Linked DNA regions of Homo sapiens: all the other regions are linked to region 2. The links are contacts of gene promoters, found by promoter capture Hi-C in human tissues and cell types (Jung and others, 2019). All regions are on one chromosome and are shown on one strand. Each heading gives the region's core, a stretch centred on a gene start or on the middle of the fragment in contact. The rest is flanking DNA. Distances are from core to core; before and after follow the strand shown. Region 1 holds the start of BSG (basigin (Ok blood group)). Region 2 holds the start of R3HDM4 (R3H domain containing 4). Region 3 holds the start of HCN2 (hyperpolarization activated cyclic nucleotide gated potassium and sodium channel 2). Region 4 holds the start of CDC34 (cell division cycle 34, ubiquitin conjugating enzyme).

Region 1 (4,984 bases), core at 692-3,191, 340 kb after region 2:
CTGTCGCCCAGGCTGGAGTGCAATGGCGCGATCTCGGCTCACTGCAAGCTCCGCCTCCCTGGTTCACACCATTCTCCTGCCTCAGACTCCCTAGCAGCTGGGACTACAGGCGCCCGCCACCACGCCAGGCTAATTTTTTGTATTTTTAGTAGAGACGGGGTTTCACCGTGTTAGCCACGATGGTCTTGATCTCTTGACCTCGTGATCCGCCCGCCTCGGCCTCCCAAAGTGCTGGGATTACAGGCGTGAGCCACCATGCCCGACCTCTTTTTTTTTTTTTTTTAAAGACAGAGTCTCCCTGTTACCCAGGCTGGAGTGCAGTGGCATGATATCAGCTCACTGCAACCTTCACCTCCCAGGTTCAAGCGATTCTCTTGCCTCAGCTTCCTGAGTGGCTGGGATTACAGGCGTGCGCCAACACGCCCAGCTAATTTTTGTATTTTTAGTAGAGATGGGGTTTCACCATGTTGGCCAGGCTGGTCTTGAACTCCTGACCTCAGGTGATCCACCCGCCTCAGCCTCCCAAAGTGCTGGGATTACAGGTGTGAGCCACCACGCCCGGCCTCACTATAAATCTTTAACCCAGAACCAAATGGGGGTCTCAACAAAGGAAGAAATTTTCTATGAAGCAAGAAAGGATGTCATGCTTTTCTCCCGGAAAAACACACCTCAATCCATTTCCCAAATGCGCTCTCCAAACCACGTTTGCCCACCCTCAACACACGGCCCTCCTAAGACAGCACTGGAAACCGAATGCGGGTCAGAGTCGGCTAAAAACGACTTTCTCACTATTTCCTGCGCTGAATCGGGTGGCCAGGGCCCCCTCACTGTGACCTTGGAACCTCGACTTCCCACAGGGCTGTTTCCTCGCCTGTAAAGGAGGAGGGGCGTTCAGAGACCACCTCATTCTGGGTGCTGAATCCAGGCAGAATCAGAGGGAGATTCCGCCTTCCCTTCCACGCAGGGCCCCTCGAGGGAGCCTGCGAGGTCTTAAGAGTCTGGGAGAACACCCGGGGGCAGGTGCACGCCCTAGGCAAGACGCCAGGGCTAAATCCCGTGAAGAACGGTAATCCCTTCCCGATCCGGAGGGCTGACCCACTCAGAGCCTCCATGTGCTCTTGGAGGACAAAAGCCCCTTTTCCAGAAGGGAGCGCCAAGATGATCGCTCCAGGCCGCACGGGCCCTTGCGGGGGCCCCAGAGAGTCTCAGGGGAGGGTCTCTGACCCTAACACTCGCAGGCAGGGTGGACCCGTCTCCAGATTCCACGCCCAGGCCGCTTTCCCCAGGTCCTGCGGAGTCCAGCCCCAGCAGGACGGGTTGGGCAGGCACCAACCAGCCCCTGACCCCTGGCTCCAGGCCAAAGGGGACGCTCACCCAGGCTTTGGGTCTCCCTTCTCCTGGCCGATGGGACCGGCGGGCGGGCCACCTCCAACCGCCTTCGCAGACGCCCTCACCCAGGAAGCAGGTCACCCCCAACCCCAGGTGACCGAAAAGCAAGACGCCCACCTCCCCTGACCAAGACCGGCCTGGCCAGGACCCCCTGGCTCCCGCCTCCAAGCAGGGAGCTTCACGCCCACACACAGAGGCCGGGCTCGAGGCCGGAGCGCCCGGGGGAGCCCGGCAGGCCGCGCCGGGAGGAACCTCTAGTCCCCCCTCAAACCCTGGGACTTCACCCCCAAGCTCCATGCTGGCGCGGGAAGCCCCCGGGGCCGGCCTTTCGCACCCCAGGCCGCCCCGCGCCGAGGCCCCAGGCTCCCGTCGGCTTCGGGTCGGCACCGCGGCCTCCATTCCCGGCCCCTGCAGGACCGCACCCCCGCCCCCTACCCGCTCCTCACCAGCCCCGGAGGCTCCGTGGGTGCCCAGCAGCGCGAATCCCAGCAGCACGAACAGCGCAGCCGCCATGATTCCTATTCCTCGCCGGTCCTACAACCTCCAACCGCTGCCGCCGCCGCCCGCGGCCGCTATAAAAAGCGGCGGAGGCGCGGACCGGGCGCGCGCACGCACGGCGTCATCTCGGGGGCGGGGCGAGCGCCGGGGACGCCGGTCGCCCCGCCTGCGCACGCGCGCACACGCTCGCATGTACGCGCCGGCTCCGGCAGGCTCACGCTACGGAATCCGGGCGGCGGCGCACGTGACCCGGCGTTGCTAGGAAACGGGAGTGGGGCCTGCGGGGACGCGGCTGGAGCCTGCGCATTTCTTCCTTCCTGCTTTCAAAGTTGCAATGAGCGCAGAGCGGTGCGCCCGAGGGGGTTGAAGCGTTGAAAGTGTGTTACCCAGATTTTATCTGAGTTAAACACGGGCCGGCCGCTGTGGCTCACGTCTGTACTCCCAGAGCCTTGGGAGGTCGAGGCGGGAAGATCGCTTGAGCCCGGGAGCTCGAGACCAGACGCGGCAACATGGCGAGACGCACATCTCTGCCTTTAAAAATGTACATATATATATATATATATGAACGTATTAATAAATTAGGTGGGAGGAAGTGACCTCCTCCGCCCAAATAAAAATACTTAAAGGGCACTTGAATCTGGATCTCAGAAAATGAATAATTTCTTAGTATAAACGTCCTGTGCACCATTTGGTTGGGACAAGTAAGTTCCTCTTCAGAAACTCAACTTCCAGGTCTAAAGTTGTCAATCAACCTTACCCCCTTCTTCTTTCCTCGCAGGTGGCGCGTTTACCCTATTTTAAAAAAGTTTTAAGTTTTAGCCAACCGGGATCAGCTTAGATTGTGGGCGTCCAACCCCAGCCAACAGGGAAAGGACAGAGGAACAGAAGCTCCCTTCCTTTGTCCCGTGTGCTCTGGAGATTGCATCCCACGCAGGCAGCCCCCTTCCGTACAAGTAAAGTGGTCTCGCTGAGAAATTTTCTAAGTGCTGGTTTCTCTTTGCGGGACCGACTCGCCGCCCCCAAATATCCCATTTGGATCCCATTCTGTTTCAGGAGAGGCTGGCGGTTACCTTTCTTGGGGAGACGCGTCCGACTGCTTCATTGTGGGGGCCTCAGGAGCGGAGGATCGGGTCCCGCCCGAGGTGACGCGTAAACCCAGACTCTCAGCAACGCGGGTAGGAAGGACCCTTGAAGTTCCGCGGCGACCACGGTGAGAAAAGTCGCTATTGGGGCGACACAGGTGGGGGCGTCTCTTGGAGGTTGAAAGTGTGTGTTGGAAGTTAAACTCGGAGTCGCAATGCAAGAGGACCGCAGACTAAGCCGAACGCGAAGGGCTAACTGGAAAGGGGCAGGAATGTGGCTACACTGGCGGGAAGAGCCCGTGGCGACGGGAGGGGGATGTGCAGAGTGGGTGGCAGGTGCCATCTCTGCAGATCAGGACCGGCGGGAAACTTGTTTACTGAGACTCAGACGGGGAGGCCCAGAGGGTGAGGAAGTCAGGTTGGCCTTGGAAGTAGGAAACGAAGAACGAGGGCGCTGAACGAGCCAAACCTTTGAAGAGGAACTTGTGAATGAATGAGACGCGCCATATCTTTTGTGTGTGTGTGTGTTGGAGTCTCGCTGTGTCACCCAGGCTGGAGTGCAGCGGCGCGATCTCGACTCTCTGCAACCTCCGCCTCCCGGGTTCAAGCGATTCTCCTGCCTCAGCCTCCTGAGTAGCTGGGATTACAGGCGCGCACCACCACGCCCGGCTAATTTTTGTATTTTTAGCAGAGACGCCCCATATCTAAAGAAGGGTGGGATCCTCTAGACCACCTTCCCCCACTCACCCCTCCGCCCCTCCCAACCCACCCCCTCCGCCCCTCCCAACCCACCCCCTCCGCCCCTCCCAACCCACCCCCTCCGCCCCTCCCAACCCACCCCCTCCGCCCCTCCCAACCCACCCCTCCGCCCCCCCCACCCACCCACCCCACCCCTCCGCCCCTCCCCAACCCGCCCCTCCGCCCCTCCCACCCACCCCTCGCCCCTCCGCCCCTCCCCCACCCGCTCCTCCGCCCCTCCATCCCTCCCCTATAGAACCACCTGGACCTTGCCACCCACATCCCCGCTGGACAGCCACTAGAACATGCCCCTTCCTCAGGAAAGCTCCAACGGGAAACAGAACAATGCCAAAGGGATATTCGAAACTTTCGGCCGGGCGCGGTGGCTCACGCCTGTAATTCCAGCACTTTGGGAGGCAGAGGCGGGTGGATCACGAGGCCAGGAGTTCAGGACTGGCAGCCTGGCCACGATGATGAAACCTCGCCTCTACTAAAAATACGAAAATTAGCCGGACGTGGTGGCGGGCGCCTGTAATTCCAGCTACTCAGCTACTCGGGAGGCTGAGGCAGGGAATGTCTTGAACCCGGGAGGTGGAGCTTGCAGTGAGCCGAGATCGCGCCACCGCACTCCAGCCTCGGCAACAAGAGCGAGACTCCGTCTCAAAAAACAAACAAACAAACAAAAACCCACAGAACTTTCCTTTTGCCTCCTGCTCAAAAAGACCTGCCTCAGCCCTTTTCCCCTTTAGGGAAGGACCACCGGGAGGAAGGGATATTGACTTCGTAAATGCCCCCTTTAACCAGTTCAGAGGTTAGAAATCTAAAAGAACTCAAACCACTGTTAGATGACCCTTTTGGATTCGCGGATCAAATTGACCAATTTCTGGGGCCACAGCTGTACGCTTGGGCTGAATTAATGTCTACCCTCAGTACTCTCGTCTCAGGAGAGAGAGAACCATGATTCACAGGCCGCTGTGTTAGTCTGGGAGCGTGAACACCCCCCGGTCAGAACGTCCTTTCAGCGGAGCGTAAATTCCTGGCCCAAGATCCTGGGTGGGATGACAATGTGACCTAAAAAACATGAGCGATCTCGGAGATGGGATAATTACAAGGATTCGGGAATCAGATCTGCAAACCCAAAATACTTCCCGAGCATTTAACGTACAACAGAGGAAACATGAAGGGCCCATGGGGTTTTTTTTGGAGACAGAGTCTCGCTCTGTCGCCCAGGCTGGAGTTCAGTGGCGCGATCTCAGCTCACTCCAACCTCCGCCTCC
Region 2 (5,282 bases), core at 1,434-3,933:
AGGCTATCCCTCCCCCCTCCCCCCTTAAATTTTTTTGTAGAGACAAGATCTCACTAGGTTGCCCAGGCTTGTCTTGAACTCCTGAGCTCAAGCAGTCCTCCTGCCTCAGCCTCCCAAAGTGCTGGGATGACAAGCATGAGCCACCCAGCCTGGTCAGCACAACCTTGACTCCATAATCCCACAGCTGGAAGTGTACCCCAGGATGACATCCAGGAGGTTCCCCCAAAGTCCATCCTGCAACAGAGTCCAAGACATTTGGTCATCATGGAGTAATACACAGCGAAGAAAAAGGTGCTTCCATTTGCATAAAAAAAGACAAAAAAGGGAGGAAAAAAAATGAATAGGCCGGGCACAGTGGCTCATGCCTGTAATCCCAGCACATTGGGAGGCCGAGGCAGGTGGATCACTTGAGGTCAGGAGTTCCAGACCAGCCTGGCCAACGTGGTGAAACCTGGTCTCTACTAAAAATACAGAAATTACCCGGGCTTGGTGGAGGGTGCCTGTAATCCCAGCTACTTGGGAGGCTGAGGCAGGAGAATCACTTGAGCCCAGGAGGTGGAGGTTGCAATGACCTGAGATTGCATCACTGTAGGCTGGGTGACAGAGCGAGACTCTCTCAAAAAAAAAAAAGAAGAAGAAGAAGAAGAAGAAGGTACAGACAGGACAGGCCCAGGCCCCTGAAGGGAAGCCCTGGAACCCAGAATGGGAGGAAGGCCCAGGAAGTTCTCTGGAGTTGCCTCCCTCTCTCACGAATAAATGTTCAGGTCCATTCTTTGAGCATCTACCCTTACCCTGTGCCTGATGGATGGGGAAACCACTCATTCCCGATGCCCAGCTCCCCTGCCAGTCACTCCTGATACATCTCTCCATTGTCCTTTTTCACCTCTTTGCACATTTATCTACAGGAATCTCACAGTGCACGCTTTTTTGAGTCCATCCACAGTTTCTCATCCTTTTCTTTTTCCTCCTTACTCTTTCTTTCTTTTTCTTTCTTTCTTGCTTTTTTTTTTTGAGACAGCATCTCGCTCTGTCGCCCAGGCTGGAGTGCAATGGCACAATCTCGGCTCACTGCAAGCTCTGCCTCCTGGGTTCACTCCATTCTCCTGCCTCAGCCTCCTGAGTAGCAGGAACTACAGGCGCCTGCCACCATGCCCGGCTAATTTTTTGTATTTTTGGTAGAGATGGGGTTTCACCGTGTTAGCCAGGATGGTCACAATCTCCTGACCTCATGATCCACCCGCCTCGGCCTCCCAGAGTGCTGGGATTACAGGCGTGAGCCACTGTGCCTGGCTATTTTTTTTTTTTTTTTTTTTTTTTTTGAGACAGAGTAGTCTTACTCTGTGGCCCAGGCTGGAGTGAAGTGGACGGCTCCCTGCAACTTTTGCCTCCCATGTTCAAGCGATTCTTGTGCCTCAGCCTCCCATGTAGCTGGGACTATGGGTGCATACCACCACGCCCGGCTAATTTTTGTAGTTTTAGTAGAGATAGGGTTTTGCCATGTTGGCCAGGCTGGTCTCAAACTCCTGACCTCAAGTGATCCACTGGCCTTGGCCTCTCAAAGTGCTGGTATTACAGGTGCGAGCCACCGTGCCCAGCCTCCCTCTTGCTTTATTTTATTTTATTTTATTTTTTTGAGATGGAGTCTCGCTCCTCGCCCAGACTGGAGTGCAGTGGCACGATCTCGGCTCACTGCAAGCTCCGCCTCCCGGGTTCACGCCATTCTCCTGCCTCAGCCTCCCGAGTAGCTGGGACTACAGGCCCCCGCCACCACGCCCGGCTAATTTTTTGTATTTTTAGTAGAGAGGGGGTTTCACTGTGTTAGCCAGGATGGTCTCGATCTCCTGTCCTCGTGATCCGCCCACCTCGGCCTCCCAAAGTGCTGGGATTACAGGTGTGAGCCACCGCGCCCGGCCCTTTCTTTTTATTTTAGAGATGGGTTTTCATCATGTTGCCCAAGCTAGTCTCAGACACCTGGACTCAAGTGATCCACTGGCCTTGGCTTCCCAAAGTGCTGGGATTACAGGCGTGAGCCACCACGTTGGCCACCAGGCCTAATTTTAGAGAAGAGTAAACTGAGGCTAAGCAGGGGAAGGGGTTGCCTAGCCGAGGCTCCAGGGCTGGGAGGGGCAGGTGGAAGGAAGGCTCGGGCAGTTTTAATTTCCGCCATCCTCTGCCTCCAAGAAGAACGTCCCCTCCCTCGTCGATGCTCAGGCCTTAGTTTCCCTGTCCGTGTCTCCTCGCCTCCCTGGGCTGGATTCCTGGCTCAGTCCGCAGCCCGGATCGGGACGCAGGGTTGTGGTTGAGTTTTCGACCCCTCGCCTAGGTGTCCCTCCTTCCCGGAGCTAGATTTCTGGGTGTAGGGATCGTGGCCGGCCCCGCCTCCCGCCTCAGTCTCCCCGTTCGTCCCCCCAGGGGCTGGATCCCGGCCCCGCCTGCCTCGGTTTCCCCGTTCGTTCCCTGATGGCTGGATCCCGGCCCCGCCTGCCTCGGTTTCCCCGTTCGTTCCCTGTTGGCTGGATCCCCGCCCCGCGCGCCTCGGTTTCCCCGTTCGTCCCCCCAGGGGCTGGATCCCCTCCCCGCGCGCCTGGGTTTCCGCGTTCGTTCCCGGCAGCCGGGAGGTGGGCGCCCCCGCCCCGCCGCGCAGCCCCAGGCCCCGCCCCTGCCCGCCTCCGGGCGCCCGTCACTTCCTGCCCGGCCCGGTGAAGGCCCTGCCGGGCGGCGGCGGCGGCGACAGCGTGCGAGCCATGGTCGCGCTGGAGAACCCCGAGTGCGGCCCGGAGGCGGCGGAGGGCACCCCGGGCGGGCGGCGGCTGCTGTGAGCGCGGGCGGGCGGGGCGCGGCGGGCGCCGGGGGCGGGCTGGGCTCCCTCCCCTGAGATCCTCTCCCCGCCTCCCCTCCCCTCCTTTCCCTTCCCTCCCCTCGTTCCCTTCGTTCCCCTCGCTCCCGTTGCTCATCTTCCGGGGCTTCAGCCTGTCCTGCCTTCCCTTCTCGCCCGCTGTGGACCCCCAGGCTGGGTGGGGGGTCTTCATTGTTACTCAGCGGGGACACCCTCCTGGCGCTCCGGGGGCTCGCTGGGGGAGGGGACCCGGATCCACGTCCCCATTTACCTGTTCCGCCCCCTACTCCCCGGTCCGCCCCCTAATCCCCGGTCCGCGCCCCACTCCCCGGTCCGCCCCCCCACTGCACTGGTCCGCGCCTCCATTCCCGGGTCCACCCCCTCACTCTCCGGGTCCGCCCCCCAACTCCTCGGTCCGTGCCCCCACTCTCCGGTCCGCGCCCCCACTTCCCGGGTCCGACTCCCCCCACTCCCGGGTCCGCGCCCCCCCACTGCCCTGATCCACGCCCCCACTCCTGGGTCCGTCCCCCCACTCCCTGCTCCACCCCCCCACTCCCCTGGTTCTTGCCCCCATTCCTGGGTCCGCCCCGCAACTCCTCGGGTCAGCCCCCCAACTCCTCGGTTCCACCCCCCAACTCCCTGGTCCGTGCCCCTACTCTCTGGTCTTCGCCCCCACTCCCGGGTCCGCGCCCCCACTCCCGGGCCCGCCCCCCAACTCCTCTGTCCGACCCCCCCACTGCCCTGGCCCACGCCCCGACTCCCGGGTCTGTCCCCCCACTCCCCAGTCCGCCCCCCAACTCCCTGGTCCACCCCCCCCACCTCCCCGGGGCCGCGCCCCCACTCCCGGGTCTGTCCCCCCACTCCCCGGTCAGTCCCCCAACTCCCTGGTCCGCCCCCCACACTCCCGGGTCCGTCCCCCCACCTCCCCAGTCCGCCCCCCAACTCCCTGGTCCACCCCCCCCCCCACCTCCCCGGGGCCGCGCCCCCACTCCCGGGTCTGCCCCCCCACTCCCCGGGCCCCGAGGTGCCAGCCATGGAGCCTCCCGCCAGAGGGTCCTGGGCCCCTGTCCGCGGGTCGGGGTTCACCCACGTGGCCATGCGCTCCAGCCTGGTCCCTGCCGCACGCCCGGCCCCACTCGCCCTCTGGGCTTGTCCGCGCCCCCTGCCTTTCCGGGCAGACCCGGCTCCTTGCTCTCCTTTGGGTAAATCCCTACAACCCTTGTGGGTTAAAACCTGGCAAGCAGGAGCCCGCGCGTCCTTCCCGGGGGACCCGGAAGCGGGGCGGTCTGTGCGGGGGTCAGCCGTGTGTCACCCCGGCCCGCACAGGGACCCGGGGACCCAGGGTGCGCCCCTGGGGTCCGTGTTGGTGGAGGGCGAGGAGGCGGCGCGTGTTCCGTTCCTGCCTCCTCCGTGTGCGGACGGCGCCACCTGGGCAGGTTATTTCATGCTTCCATGCCTCAGTTTCCCCTTCTGTAAAATGGGATAGTAAGTGTGGCCTCTTCTCCGAGTGGTGGGGGTTACCGAGCTGGCACTGCGGCGGGCCCAGCAAACAGGAGTGTCCGTTGTCTCATTACTAATTATCGTTAATGTTTTATTGGTTATTTTAGTAGTATTAATATTTTGAGACGGAGTCTCGCTCTATCGCCCAGGCTGGAGTGCAGTGGCACGATCTTCATTCACTGCAACCTCCACCTCCTGGGTTCAAGCGATTCTCCTGCGGCAGCCTCCCCAGTACCTGGGATTACAGGCGCCCGCCACCACGTTCAGCTAATTGTTGTATTTTTAGTAGAGATGGGGTTTCATCATGTTGGCCAGGATGGTCTTGATTTCCTGACCTCACGATCTGCTTGCCTCGGCCTCCCAAAGTGCTGGGATTACAGGCGTGAGCCACCGCACCCGGTCTTTAGTATTATTTGTATTTATTTATTTATTTGTTTATTTTTTTGAGACAGAGTCTCACTCTGTCGTCCAGGCTGGAGTGCAGTGGGGCGATCTCGGCTCACTGCAAGCTCCGCCTCCTGGGTTCACGCCATTCTCCTGCCTCAGCCTCCCGAGTAGCTGGGACTACAGGTGCCCGCCACCGCGCCCGGCTAATTTTTTTGTATTTTTAGTAGAGACGGGGGTTTTGCCGTGTGAGCCAGGATGGTCTCGATCTCTTGACCTTGTGATCTGCCCGCCTTGGCCTCCCAAAGTGCTGGGATTACAGGCGTGAGCCACCGCGCCGGCTAGTATTATTTTTAAATGATCATTTATTACTATCATCGTTATTATGTTTATTATATCATCACTATTATCTCCACTCAGAGGCCATACCCATCTCTACCGAGGTGATTTGTATCTGAAGGAGAAAGGATGCGTCTTTGATTGGTTGATTGGTTAATTGATTGGAGACAGAGTCTCGGTCTATTGGCCAGGCTGGAGCAGAGGATGCTTTTTTTTTGTTTTT
Region 3 (5,337 bases), core at 2,838-5,337, 320 kb after region 2:
GTAGGAATGAACTATACTTATTTTTGACCTAATTTTGCTCTGGGAGGCACAGAAGACCCTGCCGAAGCCCTGGGGGTTGCATAAGGCCAAACCCCTTCCTTCTTGGTTTTCACGCCTGTTCCAATTCAGGCACCAACCGTGATCACCTACAAGGAAGGGAACTTGAGCCTCTGGAACCCAAAACCTTGAACTTGGGTCCTTGAACTTGCTCTTCCACCAGCACCCCAGGGAAGCGCCCAGCATGCCTCTGGGGACTTTCAGACGTCAGGCCGGGGTGTAGAGCCACCCACAGCCCCAGAGACTTCAGCAATAGACCAACTGCACTTCTTCTTCCTTTTCTTTTTTTTTGAGACCAAGTCCCACTCTGTCAGCCAGGCTGGAGTGCAGCAGCGCGATCTCGGCTCACTGCAACCTCTGCCTCCTGGATTCAAGTGATTCTCCTGCCTCAGCCTCCCGAGTAGCTGGGATTACAGGCGCTCGTCACGATGCCCAGCTAATTTTTGCATTTTTAGTAGAGACGGGATCATCTCACCATGTTGGCCAGGCTGCTCTCGAACTCCTGACCTCAGGTGATCCGCCCGCCTCAGCCTCCCAAAGTGCTGGGATCTCAGGCGTGAGCCGCTGCACCCTGGCACCAACTGCACTTCCAAAGGGGCCAGCCGCCCAGGCCTGAGAGCCGAAATCTGGACCCACGTCAGCCCAGGACCCATGCTCTGCCCCTCAGAAAATTCAGCAAATATGTGGCACCTGCTGTATACTGGGACTGGGACGTGGGGCGTGAAAGAGGCCACTTCCGAGCACGGGAGCAGGGTGGACTTGGGCGTGGCGGAGACAGCTGGGCAGCGAGGAAGAACCGGGGTGAGGGCGTGCCTGGGGGGCACAGGCTGGGCAAGGAGCACAGCACTCTCTCAGCAGGAAGGGGAGGTGAAGAGAGTGTGAGACGTGAGGCTGAGACACTGGCAAGGCTGTGAAAGACCCCATCCTTCTCCCTCATACCATCCCCACCGTGCAATTGGGGAAACTGAGGCAGAGGGGCCCAGCGAGGACCCAAGACACCCAGCCAGGCACAGGAGGCCTTGGGCCCGAAGCCAGTTGGGGCCAGGCTCCTGAGTCAGCTGCAAACGTAGAGGCCCCTTCGCTTGCTGTGGGCTGCCCCAAAACACCCTCCACAGCAGGGTCCGGCCGCCTGCTTAGGGAGCTTTTGAGATATTCTTGGGGGTCTTTTTCCACACTGATTCCACACTGGCACAGGTCCCAAGCCTGGGGAGGGTCCTAGGGGCCCCGTGCACCCAGCTTGGCAACATCGAAATCCTTTTTTAAAATCTGACTGCCGTGACTCCCCTAGTCCCGAAGACAGGCCCCGCTAACCCCATTCCCTGCCTGCTCAGTTCCACTTCAACACTCATCTGCCGGGGTGGGGCTGCACTTGGTCCACACAGGGGCCTCTGAGCCCTCTATGCCTCAGAGCACAGAGCGGGGCCACAGCCTGCCCAGGCCTCCAGGCGACCACGCCCAAGGAGGGTGGAAGGATGAGAGGGCTTCACTCCTACCACCGGCCTTCCCCCCAAGCCCCGGGATCAGCCATCTGCCCACCTGCCCCCCAGGCCACCGACCGCCCCTCTGCAGCCAGGGGGTCGCTGGAGCTGCCCAGGGGAGGGAGTGGCTGGTGTGGGCCTCCACCTGCCAGCCCCCACGCTGCGGTGCACCCATCTCTGTCGAAGGTCATGCTGGAGGGGACGGAGGGGAGTGGGCACGTTCTACAGCTCCCTCTCCACCGCGTCCCTCTCCGGTCAGGGGGTGCCACTGCCCGACTGGAAGTGGGGCCAGGCCGACCAGCAGCCCTGGAAGTCCAGTCCTTCCCGCTCACTGTCCACATTTCGCAGGCCAGAGCCCAGATGCTGACCAAGCTCTCCCGGTGGGGCACAGAGGCAGGGTGGGAGGGGCCGGACACAGCCCCTCTGGGGATTTCGGGGCTCCTCCCACCCCTGGCCTGTCTCGAAATCCAGGCTTCTGGTCAAAGCTGTATTCACCTCTCAGGAAGGCCTGGGGTGGGAGGAGGATTCCAGGGCCTTCCTCCAGGCTCTGTCCAGGACGCATGTGCCCCAGGCCTCAGTTTCTCCAGTCAAGCACTAGGGGTGCAGAGAATCCAGGGGAAGAGAGAACCCCACAGCCTCCCTGCCCAGTTCCGGGGGTCCAGGGTCCGTGGGGGCTGTCCTGGGGCGCCCAGGCCTGGAGGAGGAGAGACAGGCGGGAAAACCGCAGGCTTCCCAGGTCCGGCGCGCTGTCCGTGGTGCTGAAACCGCGCCCGTCCCGCGCGCCCGGCCTCGCTAGCCCGGCGGGCCCCACCTACACCCTCCACCTGCACCCTCCACACCCCACCTCACACCCCACTCGTGGATACACAAACACACACGCATCCCTCCATGGTCGCGTGTGTGAGACCTGCCTGCGGCTCACACTACTGCCCACCGGTGCACACCGGCCCCGGGCGTACACGCGCACGCCCGCCACCTGGTCCCAACACACACAAACCACACGTCCCACCAAAATAAACCCACCGGAGGCGCACACGCCCGCGACCACCACGCAAACACACTCCTGGAGACACACCTCTCCGGCCACAGGCTCGCGCCCCGGGAACCCCGCCGCGGTCACGGGCCCCTGTTCACACACAGCCCACGGGGACACGCGCCGGTCTCGCTCTCCGGCCACAGCACGCACAGCCCAGGAACCACGACCGCAAACATCAGTGGCGGTGGCCCCGCGCCGGCCCTGCTCCGAGCCTTCCACGCATTAGCCGGCTGGATCCACAGCGGCGTCTACACACCCACCGCCGCATGCGCGCACCGCCCGCGGCTCGGGTGGAGCGGCTCCCGGGGACACAGCCTGGGGACCCGCACGCTTTCCAGGCCCGCGGCCCCGGGCGCGCCTCCTCGCAGGCGGGGCGCGGGTGGACGCCGTGGGAGCCGCTTAACCCCCTCTCCCCCGGCCTCCCTGGGGCGCGTCCTTCCCGGGCGCCCTTCGTTCCTCCTCCCTCCCGCTCCGCCGCCTCTCTGGGGCCCACGTTCCCCTCTATTCGTCCTCTCTGCCCCTCTGCGCTCAGACCCTGGCCCTGCGGCCCACCCCACCCGCCGCGCCGCAGGGCGGAGGATGTCGGGGTGCGTGGGAGGGGGGCGCTCCGCGGTCACCCGGGGAGCCCCCCCAGAGGCGGAGCCTCGCGCGCCGGGGTCACTCCGGGGCGGGTCCCGGACACGCCCGAGGTCACCGAGGAGCCCCGAGGTCACCGGCCCGGCGCGCCGCCCCGCCCTCCCCAGGCGCTCCAAGGACGGCTCCCCGCGCGCCCGGCTCCCCGGGCCCCCTCGCGCCGACCGGCCCTCCCGGAGGCGGTACCTGAAGTCGCTGTACGGGTGGATGATCCAGGCCCCCGCCGACTTGACGCGCTCCTGCTCGCGCTCCACGGCCTTCTGGCTGCCGAACATCCGCAGCGAGAACTTGTTGACGCCCGGCTGCAGGAGCGCGCCGAACTGGCGCTGCATGAAGCTGGCCTGGCTGCCGCGCGGCTCCCCCGCCGGGCCCGCCTCCTCGCTGCCCGCCTCCTCCGCCGGCCCCGGCCCCGGCGCGGGCCCCGAGGCCGCCCCGCGGCACGAGAACGACACCTTGGGCCCCCGCGCCGGGCCCTCGGGCCCCGCGGGGCTGCACTGCGGCTCGCCGCGCCCGCACTCGCCGTTCGGGCTGCCCTTGGCCGTGCTCGCCGCGCCCGGGGTGCCGGGGCGGCCGCACGAGCTGTCGCGGCTGCGGAGCCGGCCCCGCGGGCCGCCCTCATCCGCCGCCTCCGGGGGCAACGCCTCGGCCCGGGGCGGGTGCTGGGGGGGCGCGGGCCCGGGGCCCGGGGGGGGCGCGGGCGGCGGCGGCGGCGGCGGCTGCTGTTGGGGGGGCGCGGGCGGCGGCGGCGGCGGCGGCCCCGGCGCGGGGGTCGCGCCCGGGCTCTCCCCGGGCCGCCCGCCGCCCCCGCGCGCGTCCATGGCGAGGCGGCGCCGGGCAGTGCGGAGCGGAGCCGCCGCCGCCGCCGCCGGCCGGAGCCCGAGGGAGGGGGGAGGCGGGGGCGGGGCGGGGCGGAGCCGCGGGGGGCGGAGCCTCGCGGCGGGGGAGGGGCGGGGGAGGGGCGGGGGCGGGAGACCCGCCTCGGCTGCGCCCCCTCCCCGCGCGCCGCCTCCGCTCGGCGCCGGGAAACTCGGGCCGCGGGGTCGGGGGCGCCCCAAGGTCACGCGGCCCGAGGCCTCGGAGCCCCGCGCGGGCCTCTCCCCAGGAGGGGAAACTGAGGCCCGCGACGTGTAAGGACGCGCCCAAGGTCACCGGGCCCCGCTGCCCGGCCGGAGCCGCCTCTCCTGCGCCGCGGCTTCCACCTCTGTCCGGAGGGCACCGGCGCGGGGAGGGTGGACGCGGGCCTGGGAGACGGGAGAGGCCGCCACGGCCAGCGCCTCCTTGCTTTCTGTGAGGTTTGAAGACTTCCACGACGAAAGGGTGTTTCTAAAGGTCACAGGAGCCCTTGCTGGGTCGCCTGTGGGCCCTGGACAGAGACCCTTGAGTGCGTGGGGAGGGGCAGGCCGGCTTGGGCGCCGTTCTGGGAGACTCAGGCACTCCTCTCCCTGGTCTGCATTTGAGGAAACTGAGGCCAAGCCCAGCCAGACAAGGAAAACTGGAAAAGCCACCCGAGGGTGTGGGGTTCCCACCCACCCCTCAAACAGTGCCCTGGGGAGCCGTGCGGCGGGGGTCTCCTCTAGGTCTGGTGGGCTTTAGATTGGGGTCACAGGGAGACCCAAAGCCCACTAGCGCCTTCGCACGGGTACCAGAGCCCCCTGCCCCGGGGTTGCCTCCTTTCCCCGACCCCTCGGACTCCGGGTGCAGCTGTGCCCCCAGTGCCTCCAGTCCCCAGCTCTGAGACAGGTGCTTCCCAAGGCTCTGCTTCTGGGCCGAAGCCGGCTGGGCGTGGGTGCTGCTTGGTGCCAGGTGACATGAGGCCTCTGTCCCTAGCCACCCAGCCCACCAGACAGCCGGGAGGGGGCAGGTGAGGAAGCTGGCAAGTGAGAGAGAGGAGACAGACAGTCACACTCGAAGAAGTGGAGGCTGAACATCCCCACCTGGAGGCAGGAGGCCCTCCTGGGACCCTCCTGGCACCTGGCCTGACGTCCTCTCAGCCACGATGTCCCGTGTGCCGGGTGCCCCCCACCCATCTGCACCTCGAGGCCACCGGGGCAGAGATGGCCCTCTTCCTACACCCAGGAGGCACTCAGTGGTACTTGAGGGAGGGCCAGCATGTGCCCGGCTGACAGTGGATGG
Region 4 (5,287 bases), core at 1,553-4,052, 380 kb after region 2:
AGGGAGGGTACTCGGGGGTCTTGGATTGTGGGCGAGGTCTGGACAGGGAGGGCACTCAGGGGGTCTTGGATCGTGGGTGAGGTCTGGACAGGGAGGGCACTCAGGGGGTCTTGGATCGTGGGCGAGGTCTGGACAGGGAGGGTACTCGGGGGTCTTGGATTGTGGGCGAGGCCCCTCCCGGACAGGCAGGGCACTTTGGGGGTCTTGGATCGTGGACGGGCCCCTCCTGGACAGGGAGGGCACGCGGGGTGTCTTGGGGGGTGTCCTCTGTTTGACAGGGAACTCACTGGTGCCCCGTAAGGCAAGTGACTTGGCCGCGGCCACAGAGCAAGGCTGGAACTTCAGTCTCAGAACTGTCCTGCGGTTCCCCAAGACTTCAGGCCCCCCAAGCCTGGTGCTGGGTTTCAGGCGGCAATCCTTGACAACAGCCAAGGCCTCATCTGTACCAAACCCCACCAAGTCCCAATGAGCCTCTTATTTTGGGCACCTCTAAGAATGTCTTTTCCCCGGAGCAAACCCAGGCTCAGAAAAGGAAAGCGCCCTGCCAAGGGCAGACAGCAAGTCGGCTGTGGAGGGCTCTCTCTGGCGGCCCCTGCCCCAGGGCTCACTTTGGCTCCTGAAGGAACAGCAGCTGCAGGCAGTGGCTGGGCAGCAGCGGCCCTGGGCACTCAGCAGGTTCTGTATTTCCACGCTCCCCCAACTCCCTCCCAGGCACAGCGGGAAGGGAGAGTCCTCGTGGGTGGCAGCACCCCCGTCTCAACACTGGCTTCTGAGGACTGACCCTGTGGCAGATGTCTAGAGGCCCCCTCCCTGGGAAATCCGGAAAACCGGATTATCCCCTAATGCTGGCCCAGGAAGCTCTGCCCACAATCCCTGGCAACCGGTCTGGTGGGCACAGCAGCCAGAAACCCCCATCCCCTCCTTCCAGAACAGCAGCCGCCTCACAGGCCTGGCTTCGAGGTGGGGCTGCGGCTCCTCAGCCAGCTGCTCCCCCAAGCAGACAGAAGGGGCTGGCGGAGGAGCTGCTAAAACCATTTGGCAACCTCGAGACCCAAACTCTGTTCCCTGTGTGGGGACGCAGGATTCCAGATGCAGAACCCACGGGCGTCCCACTCTCTGCTCAGGAATCGCCCCCAGCAGACCAGGCTGCTGCCCTCACAGCCGCTGAGCGGGTGCGGTTCAGACACTAATTAGCTCGGAGAGCAGACACATATCGTGCGGGAGGCATCGGTCCCTCGGCCCCACGCCCGCAGCTGGCCGGGGCAGAGCGGGCCGGGCCCTGCAGTGTCGTGTCGTGTCCAGGCTCTTGGCAGGAAGTGACGGTGGGAGGGGGAGATTCCTGGACAGGGTGCTCGTTCCCCACCGCTCACACAGGGCCCCTCGCTTTGTCCCTCTGGCCCCAAGAACGAGGTCCCTGAACGCTAAAAGAAGTCAAAGGTCACGTCTGGATCGTGAGATCAAGAAAACTGCCCTGGTTTTGGCCTGAGTCCTTTTCACATGAGACAGAAACAGCCTCCCCGCTCCCAACAACAACAAAAACATCCAGAAACTGCTTGGAATTAAACCGCCAGAGGGCAGAAGAAACGGCCCAGAACTCGGGGTTTGGGTCCCAAGAAGCCACCTGTTCAGTGGACTCTGAGAAAGGCCAAGACCAGCTGGGATGAGCGAGCCCGGAGCTTCTGAGGTCGGGGTCCGGGACGCGGGCCCGAGCCGGGAGGCCTGGAGAGAGCTGCAGGGAGCAGGTGGGAGGCACGCCCCTACTTCGGCCTTCCCGAGGGCGCAGGTTACATAAAGCAGGGGATGGAGCCCAGGGCGCCTGGCCGGCTGCTACTGGCAAGGGTGGCCGCTTTCCAGGCGGGTCCTGGCTGCCAAGGCTCATCCGGGCCTTTGTTGGAGACTGAGCGAGTGGCCGCGCCAGCCACCCCCAGGCTGGCCTCGCTCCCCCGCTCACGGGCCCAGCTCCCCAACAATAGCAGCTACGGGGTCTGGGGGGGCCTCTTTGTCTCCTCCGGGGAGGGCGGGGAGGGCAGCTGAAAGGCCGGCGCGGCCTGGGCTCCGCTCCCTCTTTCTCGCAGGGGCGGAGGGGGAGGCAGCCGGGGTCCAGCCCCCGCCAAGGAGGAGGTGGGCAAGAGCCCCACGCCCAGATGCTACAGGGAGGGCCCCCGGCCACCCCTCCGGGGGCCAAGAGCCTAACAGGGGACCGGACGATGCCTTGAAGGGAACTGGGGATTTTCGAGGACTGCAGCAGAGGCTGAAGGTCCCCGAGACGGTCCGAGGAGGGGGCCGGGCAGAGCTGGGTGGGGGAACGTGGCCATAGAAGGGAAACGAGCCCAAGCCAGGAGGCTTCGGGGCCCGCCCAGCAACAGCGCTAGGACCGCGGGGCAGGGAGCTGGTTCCCGGCGCCCGAGGTCGCTCGTGGGCTCCGGGACCCGGGCGGGGGTCGCCGCGCTCACCTTGAAGTAGCCGCCCTCGTAGTAGGTGTTGGGGGGCCCGAAGATGGCCACCTCCCAGTTGTATAGATCGCCCTCGTCCACCAGTGTCACGCGGAATCCCTCGACCGGCTCTTCCTGCAGCCCCTTGAGCTCCAGCAGCAGCGCCTTCTGCGAGCTGGGCACTAGCGGCCGAGCCATGGCGGCGGCGGAGGGGCCCGGGGTCGGAGCAGCGCGGGGCCGCGCGACCACCGCGAGTTCGCGAGACGGGCCGGGCCGCGCACCGTCCGGGGGGGAGCCACCGGGGCCGCCGCCTGCCTCCTCCTCTGCGCCGCCGCCGCCGCCCGGGGACCCCGAGCGCTCCAGCAGCTCTGGCGCCGCCGCCCCACCGGCGCTTGCCTTGGCCGGGCCCGCGCGCCCCGCCCCCCGCTGCGCCTGCGCGCACCGCCTGGCCCCGACTGCGCCTGCGCTCCGCGGCCAGGTCCGACTTGCGCCTGCGCGCCCGGCCGCAGGGGACGCCGGGAGGTGGAGTCCCGGCCCCGGTCCCGCCTACGGCGCCGAGCGCCTCCGCCGGGAGGGAGGGTTCGAGCGCGCAGCCCCGGGCTCTTCCGATCCCCGAGGCCGCCGCCGTCGCCCCCTGCTCGACCAGCACCGCGGACGCTGTGCGCAAGGAGGCGGGCAGGGCTGCTCTGCGCCGTCACCGGCCCGGTCCCCCGGCTTTGGGGTTGTTTTGTGACGTGCCGGCGCGGGGCGGGGCCGCGGGCGGTGAACGGGGCGCGGCGCGGGGTCCTGACCGGGACCGGAGGGGCAGGGCCGGTCCATCCGGCGCGACCCCGCGTCCCCGTCTCCGTTTCCCCGTCTGTGCAGGGGACGGGCGCGAAGTCTGTCCTAGGGTCGCGCTGGCCACGCGGAAGGGAGGAAGGGGCGGGAGCGAGGCGGGATCCGCAGACCTGGCTTCCAGGCGCGGCGCTGCCTCGGTTCCCCCGACAGCGGGAGCTCTGAGAAGTGGGCGAGGTCGGGGAGGGCTCTGAGGGGTGGGAGGGGCGAGGGCTTCCCTGGTCCCCGTTGAAGTCACCATGTGGTGTGAGGCGAGTGCAGGCGCTGGAGCCATCAGAGGTTGGCAAGGTGCTCCTGCCCCCCAGAGAAACTGGGAAAGAGGCCTACGCCGGCCAGCATCGGCTCAGCACCTGACCCGGGAGAGGCGCCAGCCCCACGGAGCCCCCACCCCAAGCTGAGCCCGAGCCTGGCTGTGCCCTCCTCCCAGCCTGACCTTTGTCCTACCCGAGTCTTTTTTTTTTTTTTTTTTTTAAATGAGACAGAGTCTCGTTCTGTGGCCCAGGCTGGAGTGCAGTGGCACAATCTCACTGCAACCTCCGCCTCCCGGGTTCAAGCTAGTGTCCGCCTCAGCCTCCCGAGTAGCTGAGATTACAGGTGCCCGCCACCACGTCCGGCTAATTTTGTATTTTAAGTAGAGATGGGGTTTCACCATGTTGGCCAGGCTGGTCTCGAACCCCTGACCTCAAGTGTGTTGTTAGGTTTTGAAAGGAAGGGGAGGATGCAGTTTGGACTAATAAAGGGATCCGTCTGCGTCGGCCTCCCAAATGCTGGGATTATAGGCATGAGCCACCGCGCCCAGCCCACCTGAGTCTTGACCCCAGCTGATTCCGGGCATCACTGTGACCCCACCTGACTTCTGACCTGGCTCAGTGGCTGCCCAGACACCCACATGCTCCTTGCTGTGAAGCTTGGTCGGGAGAACTGGCCGTGGTGAGGACGGGGCAGCCCAGCCTCCCCTGAGTCGTGCCCGTGACGGGTGGCCCTGCCCTCGGACTGTGCCAGTGGCATTGTTGCTATGCCCTGGGTACACACAGCTGCATCAACATACAGGCCGGGCACGGTGGCTCACGCCTGTGATCCCAACACTTTGGGGGGCCGAGGCGGGCGGATCACAATGTCAGGAGATCGAGACCATTGTGGCTAATATGGTGAAACCCCGTCTCTACTAAAAATACAAAAAATTATCTGGGCGTGGTGGCGGGCGCCCGTAGTCCCAGCTACTCGGGAGGCTGAGGCAGGAGAATGGCGTGAGCCCGGGAGGCGGAGCTTGCAGTGAGTCTAGATAGCGCCACTGCGCTCCAGCCTGGGCGACAGAGACTCCGTCTCAAAAAAAAAAAAAACCAAAAACAAAAACCAGTCTGGGACCAGGGCCACTCTGTCCCGCAGGTGCCCCAACACCTGGCCCCGGCTTCATGAGTCTGGTCCCCGGAAGAGGACCAGCAGGCAAACCTGTCTGGGGAAAGGAAAACAGCATCAGGAGTGGAGAGGGAGGGAGGGATCCAAGAAAGAGCTCTGGGCCGAGCGGTCACTTCCAGAGCTGTCCAGGGCCGAGGCCGAGGCGTCCTCACCCGTAAGGGCCTCTGGGCCTCCTCCCTCAGGCCCCTCTGCCCGGCACCCTGGGGGCCTGGAGTAAAAGGAGGGTCTCGGGACTAGTGGGGCCTTCTGGCTGTGGCCCCTTCACCAAGGTTCCCAGGGTTTTGTGAGCCTCAGTCTCTTCCGTGCCACAGGTCGTGGATATATTGCCAGCATCATGGAGCCGGCAGGCAGCAGCTCATGGGTAAATTAATGCTAATTAGAATTAACCACGATTCCTTCTCTAAGGGCTCCCAAGATCTCTCTTCTTCCGTACACCCACATCCCAGGAAGCACTGTGTGGGTGAGGGAGGTTTTCTTTCTCTCGCTTTTTTTTTTTTTTTTTTTTTTTGAGAAGGAGTCTTGCTCTGTCGCCCAGGCTGGAGTGCAGTGGCACGATCTTGGCTCCCTGCAACCTCCACCTCCCGGGTTCAAGTGATTCTCCTGCC

Evidence for each region. The method cuts DNA at HindIII sites, captures the fragments that hold promoters and counts their contacts. A contact is called where the count stands out against the background at its distance.
Region 1: a contact is called between the fragment with the promoter of BSG here and the fragment with the promoter of R3HDM4 in region 2, in 4 of the 25 tissues and cell types used here (dorsolateral prefrontal cortex, heart right ventricle, mesenchymal stem cells and 1 more).
Region 3: a contact is called between the fragment with the promoter of HCN2 here and the fragment with the promoter of R3HDM4 in region 2, in 2 of the 25 tissues and cell types used here (IMR-90 fibroblasts and dorsolateral prefrontal cortex).
Region 4: a contact is called between the fragment with the promoter of CDC34 here and the fragment with the promoter of R3HDM4 in region 2, in 1 of the 25 tissues and cell types used here (small bowel).

The regions. Positions count from the first base shown.
Region 1 is chr19:569,553-574,536 of GRCh38, reverse strand. It overlaps BSG (basigin (Ok blood group)), which reads right to left and starts at 1,941. Exons shown (of 9, transcript NM_001728.4): 1 at 1,836-1,941. The coding sequence starts at 1,902. BSG-AS1 (BSG antisense RNA 1) reads left to right here and starts at 2,289. Exons shown (of 3, transcript NR_184018.1): 1 at 2,289-2,428; 2 at 2,941-3,097. RefSeq lists silencers at 1,601-1,780, 1,951-2,170 and enhancers at 2,991-3,040, 3,121-3,693. The HindIII fragment of the contact is 13,063 bases long and covers 1-4,984 here.
Region 2 is chr19:910,620-915,901 of GRCh38, reverse strand. R3HDM4 (R3H domain containing 4) reads left to right here and starts at 2,683. Exons shown (of 8, transcript NM_138774.4): 1 at 2,683-2,815. The coding sequence starts at 2,745. RefSeq lists a silencer at 2,526-2,865. The HindIII fragment of the contact is 36,901 bases long and covers 1-5,282 here.
Region 3 is chr19:588,631-593,967 of GRCh38, reverse strand. It overlaps HCN2 (hyperpolarization activated cyclic nucleotide gated potassium and sodium channel 2), which reads right to left and starts at 4,087. Exons shown (of 8, transcript NM_001194.4): 1 at 3,391-4,087. The coding sequence starts at 4,022. It also overlaps the pseudogene LOC100420586. RefSeq lists an enhancer at 5,318-5,337. The HindIII fragment of the contact is 14,322 bases long and covers 1-5,337 here.
Region 4 is chr19:529,275-534,561 of GRCh38, reverse strand. CDC34 (cell division cycle 34, ubiquitin conjugating enzyme) reads right to left here and starts at 2,802. Exons shown (of 5, transcript NM_004359.2): 1 at 2,454-2,802. The coding sequence starts at 2,630. RefSeq lists enhancers at 1-445, 1,428-1,587, 1,658-1,707, 2,105-2,761 and silencers at 1,968-2,137, 2,558-3,297. The HindIII fragment of the contact is 13,520 bases long and covers 1-5,287 here.